Linked DNA regions of Homo sapiens: region 2 is linked to region 1. Evidence: promoter capture Hi-C in human tissues and cell types (Jung and others, 2019). All regions are on one chromosome and are shown on one strand. The core of a region is centred on a gene start or on the middle of the fragment in contact, and the rest is flanking DNA. Distances in the headings are between cores, read along the strand shown. Region 1 holds the start of ATRIP (ATR interacting protein). Region 2 overlaps SHISA5 (shisa family member 5).

What was found. Contacts are between HindIII fragments. The study calls those that stand out against the background at their distance.
Region 2: a fragment that was not itself captured here is called in contact with the fragment with the promoter of ATRIP in region 1 in 1 of the 25 tissues and cell types used here (aorta).

What each region holds. Positions count from the first base shown.
Region 1 is chr3:48,444,192-48,449,049 of GRCh38, forward strand. It overlaps ATRIP (ATR interacting protein), which reads left to right and starts at 2,546. Exons shown (of 13, transcript NM_130384.3): 1 at 2,546-2,901. The coding sequence starts at 2,655. ATRIP-TREX1 (ATRIP-TREX1 readthrough) reads left to right here and starts at 2,588. Exons shown (of 15, transcript NR_153405.1): 1 at 2,588-2,901. TMA7 (translation machinery associated 7 homolog) reads left to right here. Exons shown (of 4, transcript NM_015933.6): 4 at 1-17. It also overlaps a transcript of CCDC51 not described here. RefSeq lists a silencer at 2,491-2,850. The HindIII fragment of the contact is 4,147 bases long and covers 1-2,744 here.
Region 2 is chr3:48,486,815-48,491,296 of GRCh38, forward strand. All of the region lies in intron 2 of SHISA5 (shisa family member 5), which reads right to left. Among named protein-coding and RNA genes, the nearest start is that of SHISA5, 15 kb to the right of the region's middle. The HindIII fragment of the contact is 5,851 bases long and covers 1-4,482 here.

The DNA.
Region 1 (4,858 bases), core at 1,296-3,795:
CAACTCATTTGAAAGGATGGCGTTCTTGTGTGGTTGTATACCTGACAGAATACCTTACATGAGTTTAGTGGAAGAATTTGCACTTTTTTTTGGTGGGGGAGGGGGTGGAGTCTCACTCTCACCCAGGCTGGAGTGCAGTGGCATGATCTCTGCTCAATGCAACCTCCACCTCCCGGGTTCAAACTATTCTCCTGCTTTGGCCTCCCAAGTAGCTGTGGTTACAGGCACCCGCCACCATGCCTAGCTAATTTTTTGTATTTTTAGTAGAGAGGGGTTTCACCATGTTGGCCAGGCTGGTCTCAAACTCCTGACCTCAAGTGATCTGCCTGCTTCAGCCTCCCAAAGTGCTGGGATTACAGGCATGAGCCACTGTGCCTGACCAGAATTTGTGCTTTTAAAAGAAAACCCATCTTTATGTTGTCACATCCAAATTGCCGTATATTTTGATGAGACTTGTTCATCTGTTCATGTAAGGCGTCTGCTATATGCAGGCACTGGGGTATGTAACGGAACAGTTCCTGTTGTCAAGGAACTTCTCTACTGTGGAAGAGGCAGGGCAGGGCAAATTACATGATCCTTCAAGTTGCTAGCAGTGAAGTCCCCATGCGCACCAAACAGGTCCAGGGCAGCAGCTGCGGGAAGCCCCAGCCCACTTGCTGGTGGATGGAGGGGGTGCCAGTGCCAGGCAAGGGGTTGGGGGTGAGGCAAAATGGGGGCTCACTCTACCTCCTGCTGCCCAGGACTGGAGTCCCAGGCATACCTACCGCTTGCCCCTCAATAAATGCAAAGACAGAGACCATCCATAATGTGTGCTGAATATGTTTTAAAATGCTTAGCTGGGTGTGGTGGTGCACTTCTGTAGTCCCAGCCATTTGGGAGGCTGAGGTGGGAGGATCACTTGAGCCCAGGAGTTCGAGGCTGCAGTGAGCCAAGATCACACCACTGCACTCCAGCCTGGGAGACAGAACAAGACCCTGTATTTAAAAAAAAAAAATTAATTCAGAAGCACAAGTATTTGGATTTCCCTCCCAGGCCCTTAATACAATTATGTTAATAATGCTCAGCTTTCTCTGAGAATATTGTCGAAGAGCGCTCTGGAACCATTATGAGACTGCTAAATCAAAACTAGGTTTTAGAATATTGAAAACTTTCATGATTAATGTACTAGATATTAACGCGGGAGAGGGGGCAGGGGGAAGCCTGTGTTGGTCCTCTCCAGAAAGTTGCACAGCCAGTAGCACCCTTCAGTAGGCTTCAGGCATTCCCTGTGGGGCCTTGCTAGCTGGCACCCAGCCGTATGCTGCTAAAACAAACCTGAGCACCAGTGATTCACACTGTTCCTGAAAGCAAGTTACTTGGTGGAACCTATCCCTCTTTAACAAATGAACAGTCCTGTCTCTTTCCAGGACCAGAGTCCTGCAGCAATTAAGCATGCAACACTTGGGAAGCTATCTGACGGAGACTACCAGTTGCTCCAAAAAATTTTAAACTCCTTAGACATTATAGGCCCTGATAGCACTCTCTTTTTCATTTACTCTTTTCATTTAATGCTTTCACAAATATTCCTAGGACACTCACAGGTGAAGTTTGGCACTGAGCAGGTAAGGCTGAAAGAGTCTTGCTCCTGTTACTCTCCATTGCCAAATTCTCTATTGCGGCTAACTTCTGCACACCACAGCTGCCCAATAAAATCTGTCAGGCACGCAAGCCCACCTCAAATTGCTGCTCCTTTGTGAAGCTTTACCTCTGTTCGCCACCGGTAACTCTTACCTGGCCTTTGTGTGGCCTCCCTTTCAATGTAGAATTCTCGTGTTAGTCTTATGTGCCAGCCTCCTACCCCTCTATCCTGCTAACTTGACTCAACTTGTAGGACAGCGCAGGTGCCATTTACAGGGGGACTTCCTTGACCTCCTGAGCCCTATTCTATACAACCAGAGCTTAGGAAAAAAAAACAGTCCAGCACTCAGAGGAATGGATGTTAACAGCCTGAGCAGCTCCCACCCCCTCCCACACAAGAACAGCTCCAAACATCATTCCTCCTTGGACTTTCCTCCTCCCTGGGCCTACCTCAAATGTACACATGTGAAACATTCACTAAACCCGAAGATGTCTGCACACGACAGCTCTATTCATACTCCTCACCCAACAAATTCCACTCTCCTCAAGAAAGCCTAGGGGTTTGTGGGAGGTGGGTCTGGCGGCAGAAGGAAAGCGAGGTCACGGAGACCACATCCCTGAATGATGCCTGGCTCGACTCAAACGCAACACGCGTGAATGCTAGGGCAGGCTGCTCCTGCGCGGCCCTCCTCCACGGAATGCCAGGGAGGGAGCGCAAAGCCACCAGCGCGGCGGAGCTGGTGCGCCTCCGGCCCGCCTCTCCGGTAACGGGTCGCGCCGCACTGAGTCCTTGCAGCAAACCTGCCGAATCCCGCCCGTGGACCTCTAAACACCGGGCGGGGCCGGGTGTGGCGGCGCGCTCGGACGTTCGTCATTCCTCCGCGCCCTCCGCCTGCCAGCTGATTGGCCCCTGGGCCAGGGGCGGGGCACTCGCGGCGGAGGCAAGCGGCGGCGCGCGGACGGTTGGTCCAGTTCTCCGGCCTGGCGGCAGGCAAGTCTAGCTCGGCGCTGTCGGATACTTGGGGTGAGCGGAAAGCATGGCGGGGACCTCCGCGCCAGGCAGCAAGAGGCGGAGCGAGCCCCCGGCGCCTCGCCCCGGCCCGCCGCCGGGCACCGGGCACCCCCCGAGCAAGCGGGCCCGGGGCTTCTCCGCAGCCGCTGCCCCGGACCCTGACGACCCGTTCGGCGCGCATGGGGACTTCACTGCCGACGACCTGGAGGAGCTTGACACCCTCGCGTCACAGGCCCTGAGCCAATGTCCGGCCGCGGCTCGGGACGTGTCCAGTGAGTGCTCCTCGCGGCCTTTTGCTCGGAGGGAGTTGTCAACCGCGCCAGATCCCCTTGATGGCTGTGGCTTCGGAACCTCGCGGCCAGCACTGCCTTTTCGCCTTTTTAAAATATGGGAACACCCTGATTTAAGCAGCGGTTGTCTTCCAGAAGGTCCTTTGATTTTAGGGGGAAATGCATTAGCCAGGTCAAACAGCCGATTTGAAACACAGAAGGCTAAGTTGACATTTTACGTTATTTTCTAAAGTTTAGGCCACTTGGTTCTTGGTTCTAAGCAGAGATCCTTGGAACACACCTACCACCACCATCAGAACCATCACTACCCATGCATGGGGACCCATTCTTGTGACAAGTTTGAGCGGCTTTAGATCTTATGAAGCCCACTGTCTCCCTTGGGCAGTGTGAGCATGGGAGGAGCCAGACACAGGCAAGAGATGAAATAAATTTATTCTTTTATACAACCAGTAAACTGTGCTAGGTGCCCAAACGTGAGGAACTGCAGCTGACCTTACAATGAACAAAATACAAAAACTGTCCTTCATGGAGCTTACATTCTAGTTGAGGAGTGAGTGAAGTCTTGAGGACTCCCAGAAAGAGAAATGTTTTGAGTGCACCTTGCATCTGTACTTGGGTGTCTCAAGGCACCTTAAACTCAACACGATCATTTCCTGGAAACCCAGTCCTCCTCCAGCACTTCTAGCATGGTGCCGGCAAAGCAGACATTCAGAGAATGATGACCAGATGTTCCACAAGGAAGTAACTAGCACGACTCTCCATCCAGTGGCACAAAGCGACTCTTCCCCTTTCCTTGACTCTACATCTAATTTATTTGGAAAGCATGTCAAGCTTACCTTCTTAATCCTTCTCTGGAGTCTATCCTATTCACATTGCTTCTACCAGCTGCCTGATCTGTGTTACCATGAGTCCTCTCTTGAACAATGGTCTGCTAAATTGGTTTCCCATTTCCAGTCTTGACTCCCTACAAGTGAGGCTTCACATCACATTCTGAGTGATCTTTTCAAAACTCAAATCTGGCTGTGTCTTACACAGATATACGTGAACACCCTTTTTTTTTTTTTTTTTTTTGACGGAGTCTCACTCTGTCACCCAGGCTGAAGTGCAGTGATGCCATCTTGGCTCACCACAGCCTCTACCTCCCAGGTTCAAGAGATTCTCTTGCCTCAACCTCCCGAGTAGCCTCAGCCTCCCAAGTAGCTGGGATTACTTGTGCCCGCCACCATGCCTGGCTAATTTTTGTATTTTTAGTAGAGACGGGGTTTCGCCATGTTGGCCAGGCTGGTCTCAAACTGCTGACCTCAGGTGATCCACCCGCCTTGGTCTCCCAAAGTGCTGAGATTACAGGTATGAGCCATCCGCACCCAGCCATGAACACCCCTAATGAAAGCCCTTTAATAATTTCTTATTTCTTCTAGTGTGAAGACCAGAATCCTTAACATGGCCTGAAAGGCCCAGCCTGGTTTGGCCCTTTCTCACTCTCTGGGTCCTGGCTGCACTAACATTCTTTGAATTCTCTCTGCTTCTTTACAATACAGGAACTTTATACATTGTTCTTTCTTTGTACATTGAGTATACTTTTCATTCATTCATTTCCACTCATCTGGTTAATTCCTACTTGTCCTTCAGCTCTCAGCTCCTTCAAGTCTTCCCTAGGGAAATGTTCCAATCATCCCACTTAAGTCAGATTGCTGTCATATTATAGGCTTTCCTATATTTGTTCTCTTCTGCAGTTCTTAATCACAGTTGTAATTTTACATTTATCTGTGTGATTATTTGTTGAATGTCTTTTAAGCTCTGTGAGTGTAAGGAAGTATCAATTTTGCTCACTATTGTACCTGTAGAGCCTAACATGCCTGGCATATTGCATGTGGTCAGTAACTATTACTGAATAATAAGTAGATCATTGAGTTCTGGCCAATGAGATCTCCTCAGGCTT
Region 2 (4,482 bases), core at 650-3,149, 42 kb after region 1:
GAGGCTGAGACAGGAGAATCACTTGAACCCGGGAGGTGGAGGTTACAGTGAGCCGAGACTGAGCCACTGCACGCCAGCCTGGGTGACAGAGACAAGACTCCATCTCAAAAAAAAAAAAAAGAAAGAAAAGAAAAGAAAAACCCACAGGTGGCCAGGTGTGGCGGCTCATGCCTATAATCCTAGCACTCTGGGAGGCCAAGTTGGAAGGATTGCTTAAGCCCAGCAGTTCAAGACCAGCCTGGGCAACATAGGGAGATCCCATCAGTATTAAAAAAATATAATAATGTCCATAGGCGCACACACACACACGCACACGCACACACACACACACACTCCCACACACTCCCACACAGATGCGCCTGCCAAGAGTTTTCTAAAACTGAAATTTAACAAATTCCATATACCAATTTGAGGGGAATCAATATCTTTAAAATATGGTCTTCCAATTCATGAGCCCTGTCTATGCCTCCATTTATTTAGGGCTATGATTTTTTGTAATAATGTTTTATGTATTTTATAGTTTATATAGTTACATAGTTTATATGCTTTATGAACATACAGTTTATACGTTTTAATGTTTATAGTTTGTATGTTTATATGTTTTATAAATACACAGTTTGTATGTTTTACAGTTTATGGTTCATAGTTTTCTGTGTAGAAATTTTGTCTTTCCTAGGTATTTGATGTTTTTGATGCTATTGGAAACGTCTTTTGAAATTATATTTTTAATTAGAAGTTTAATAGATTTTTTTACTATACTGACCTTGTATGTCTCACACACACAAAAAAAGAAATACCAGCTGGGCGCAGTGGCTCACATCTGTAATCCCAGCACTTTGGGAGGCCAAGGTGGGTGAATCACCTGAGGTAAGGAGTTCAAGGCCAGCCTGGCCAACATAGCAAAACCCTGTCTACTAAAAATACCAAAAAAATTATCTGGGCATGGTGGCACATGCCTGTAACCCAAGTTGCTTGGGAGGCTGAGGTAGGAGAATCGCTTGAACCTGGGAGGCAGAGGTTGCAGTGAGCCAAGATCATGCCACTGCACTCCAGCCTGGGCAACAGAGTGAGACTCCGTCTCAAAAAACCAAACCAAACCAAAACAAAACAAAACAAAAGAAGTACCCATGGGGGATATTTCTTTAGATGTTAAACAAAACAAAATTTAAAAGCATTATAAACAATTATACCCTAATACATTTGAAGGAAAACCAGTGAAGCTAAGGAGAAAAATTTGCCTTAAAATACTGAAATTATCAGACACTGACATTAGAATAACAACACATACACTGTTTAAAGATTACACAGTGAGATTAAAGGAAAAAAGAGCTTAAAGAGATTAAACAAAAGATTGAGCAATTCAGAGGAAAACTTGAAATATATGGGATACTTAGTGTTGAAGGAGCAGCTTGGATCCTCTTGACTGCTTTTTTTTTTTTTTTTTTTTTTTGTGAGACAGAGTCTTGCTTGTAGCCCAATCTCGACTCAATGCAAGCTCCGCCTCCCTGGTTCACGCCATTCTCCTCCCTTAGCCTCCCGAGTAGCTGGGACTACAGGTGCCCACCACCATGCCCGGCTAACTTTTTGTATTTTTAGTAGAGATGGGGTTTCACCATGTTAGCCAGGATGGTCTTGATCTCCTGACCTCATGATCCGCCTACCTTGGCCTCCCAAAGTGCTGGGATTACAGGCGTGAGCCACCGCACCCAGCCAACTGCTTATAGTAAAATGTGAAAAGGCCGGGCGCGGTGGCTCACGCCTGTAATCCCAGCACTTTGGGAGGCCAAGGCGGGCAGATCACCTGATGTCGGGAGTTCGAGACCAGCCTGGCCAACATGGAGAAACCCCGTCTCTACTAAAAACACAAAATTAGCCGTGCGTGGTGGCACATGCCTGTAATCCCAGCTACTAGGGAGGCTGAGGCAGCAGAATCACTTGAACCCGGGAGGTGGAGGTTGCGGTGAGCTGAGCTCATGCCATTGCACTCCAGCCTGAGCAACAAGAGCGAAACTCCGTCTCAAAAAAAAAAAAAAAAAAGTGAAAAAAGAGAAATGAATTGTTAAGCAAAAAAAGAACTAGAATTTAAAAATCTGGACAATTCTCAGCCTATCCATACTGTAAATACTAAGAGAGTAGTCCAAAAACTGCGAGGTAAGGAGATTAGAATGGGTATGAATCACAGACCTAATCAGTCACCCTAGCACCTGCCAGAGGGGAGAAAGGGGATGAAGTGAAGGAAGGCTGTCGGACATCTAAGATCCTACAGGACTGGGCCATAGAGCAAGCTTGTCCAACCTGTGACCAGCGGCCCACATTCAGGCCAGGATGGCTTTGAATGTGGCCCAACACAAATTCTTAAACTTTCTTAAAACATTATGAGATTTTTTTTTTTTTTTTTTTGCTCATCAGCTATCATTAGTGTGTTTTATGTGTGGCCCAAGACAATTTTCTTCTTCCAAAGTGGCCCAGAGAAGGCAAAAGATTGGACACCCCTGCTACAGCTATTTTTTTATTTTTTTATTTTTTAGCCAGAGTCTCACTCTGTCACCCAAGCTGGAGTGCAGTGGCATGATCTCAGCTCACTGCAAGCTCTGCCTCCCGGGTTCACGCCATTCCTGCCTCAGTCTCCTGAGTAGCTGGCACTACAGGCGCCCGCCACCATGCCTGGCTAACTTTTTCTATTTTGTTCAGCAGAGACGGGGTTTCACCATGTTAGCCAGGATGGTCTCGATCTCCTGACCTTGTGATCCGCCCGCCTCGGCCTCCCAAAGTGCTGGGATTACAGGCTTGAGCCACTGCGCCTGGCCTTTTTTTTTTTTTTTTTTTTTTTTGAGACAGGGTCTCACTCTGCCACCCAAGCTGGAGTGCAGTAGTGTGATCACAGCTCACTGCAACCTTGATCTCCTAGGCTCAAGCAATCCTCCCACCTCAGCCTCCTGAGTAGCTGGGGCTACAAGTGCATGCTACCATGCCCAGCTAACTAAAAAAAAAAAATCATGGAGACGAGGTCTCACTATATTGCCCAGGCTGGTCTTGAACTCCTGGGCTCAAGCAATCCTCCCATCTCAGCCTCTCAAAGTACTGGGATTAAAGGCGTCAGCCATCATGCTTGGCAGCGCTATTTTCAAGGTGCAGTGTTCTTAAAGACAAGAAAAGGACCTCAAAGACAATTCAATCATCAAGGCTGCCACTCCCACCACAGGCCCAGAGTGCACAGGCCGGAACCAGGTTGCCGCCACCTCCGTTTTTTTTGTTGTTGTTGCTTTTTTTCTGAGACGGAGTTTTGCTCTTGCCACCCAGGCTGGCTGGAGTGCAATGGCGCAATCTCGGTTCACTACAACCTCCACCTCCTGGGTTCAAGCGATTCTCCTGCCTCAGCCTCCCAAGTAGCTGGGATTACAGGCATGCGCCACCATACCCAGCTATTTTTGCATTATTAATACAGATGGGGTTTCTCTATGTTGGTCAGGCTGGTCTCAAACTCCTGACCTCAGGTGATCCGCCCACCTCGGCTTCCCGAAGTGGTAGGATTACAGGTATGAGCCACTGCACCTGGCCGGCCACCTCAGTTTTGAAGGCCAGGACCACCACCCAGCAGAGCCATGGGGGTGCAGCCCCCATCACAGTGGGTCCAGAGGGCAGAGTGTCCAGCCAAAGAGGATTATTCCCAAGGCTTAAAGTCTACTGGAGTTTGTCTTGCTAGAATTTAGAATTGCCTGGCACTGAGAACTAAACTCTGATTTTTTTTATCTCGCCCAAATTCCTATCTAAGGGGCCTGGGGAGTCATGCCCTACAAATCATAAATTCTCATCAAATGGGTTTTATTTAACCCTATATATCATGATTTACTTTCCAACCTGACTCTGGCATAACATTAAGAGACAAGGAAAAAAAATCAAAACATTTTACCCCAAAACATGTTTCTTTGCCATATTTTGAAATGACCTTGCAAAGCTGTTCTCTATGGGAGAAAATGTGCATCTGTAAAGAATCTCTATTAACATAGCTAGATCTTTTCCTTCCAGACCCTCCCAATCCTAAAGAGAGTAACTAAAATCTGAATAGGAAACATTTGTCATCTATTGTCTCTAAGGGCAGCCACTAGAAGACTTCAGAAGAACTTTGGGCTCCACAATCTTTATCTTAATCTGAACATTCCTTTTCTATCAATCAATTTTGTCTTTAGACAAACTCAACCAATTGTCAAACAGAAAACGTTTAAATTCACTTATAGGCTAGAAGCTCCCCACCCTCCCAACCCCCCGCCCTTTGAGTCGTCCCACCTTTCTGGACCAAACCAATGTATTTCTTCTTTTTTTTTGAGATGGAGTCTCGCTCTGTCGCCCAGGCTGGAGTGCAGTGGCGTGATCTCTGCTCACTGCAAGCTCTGCCTCCCAGGTTCACGCCATTCTCCTGCCTCAGCCTCCCGAGTAGCTGGGGCTACAAGCGCCCGTCACCATGCCCAGCTAATTTTTTGTATT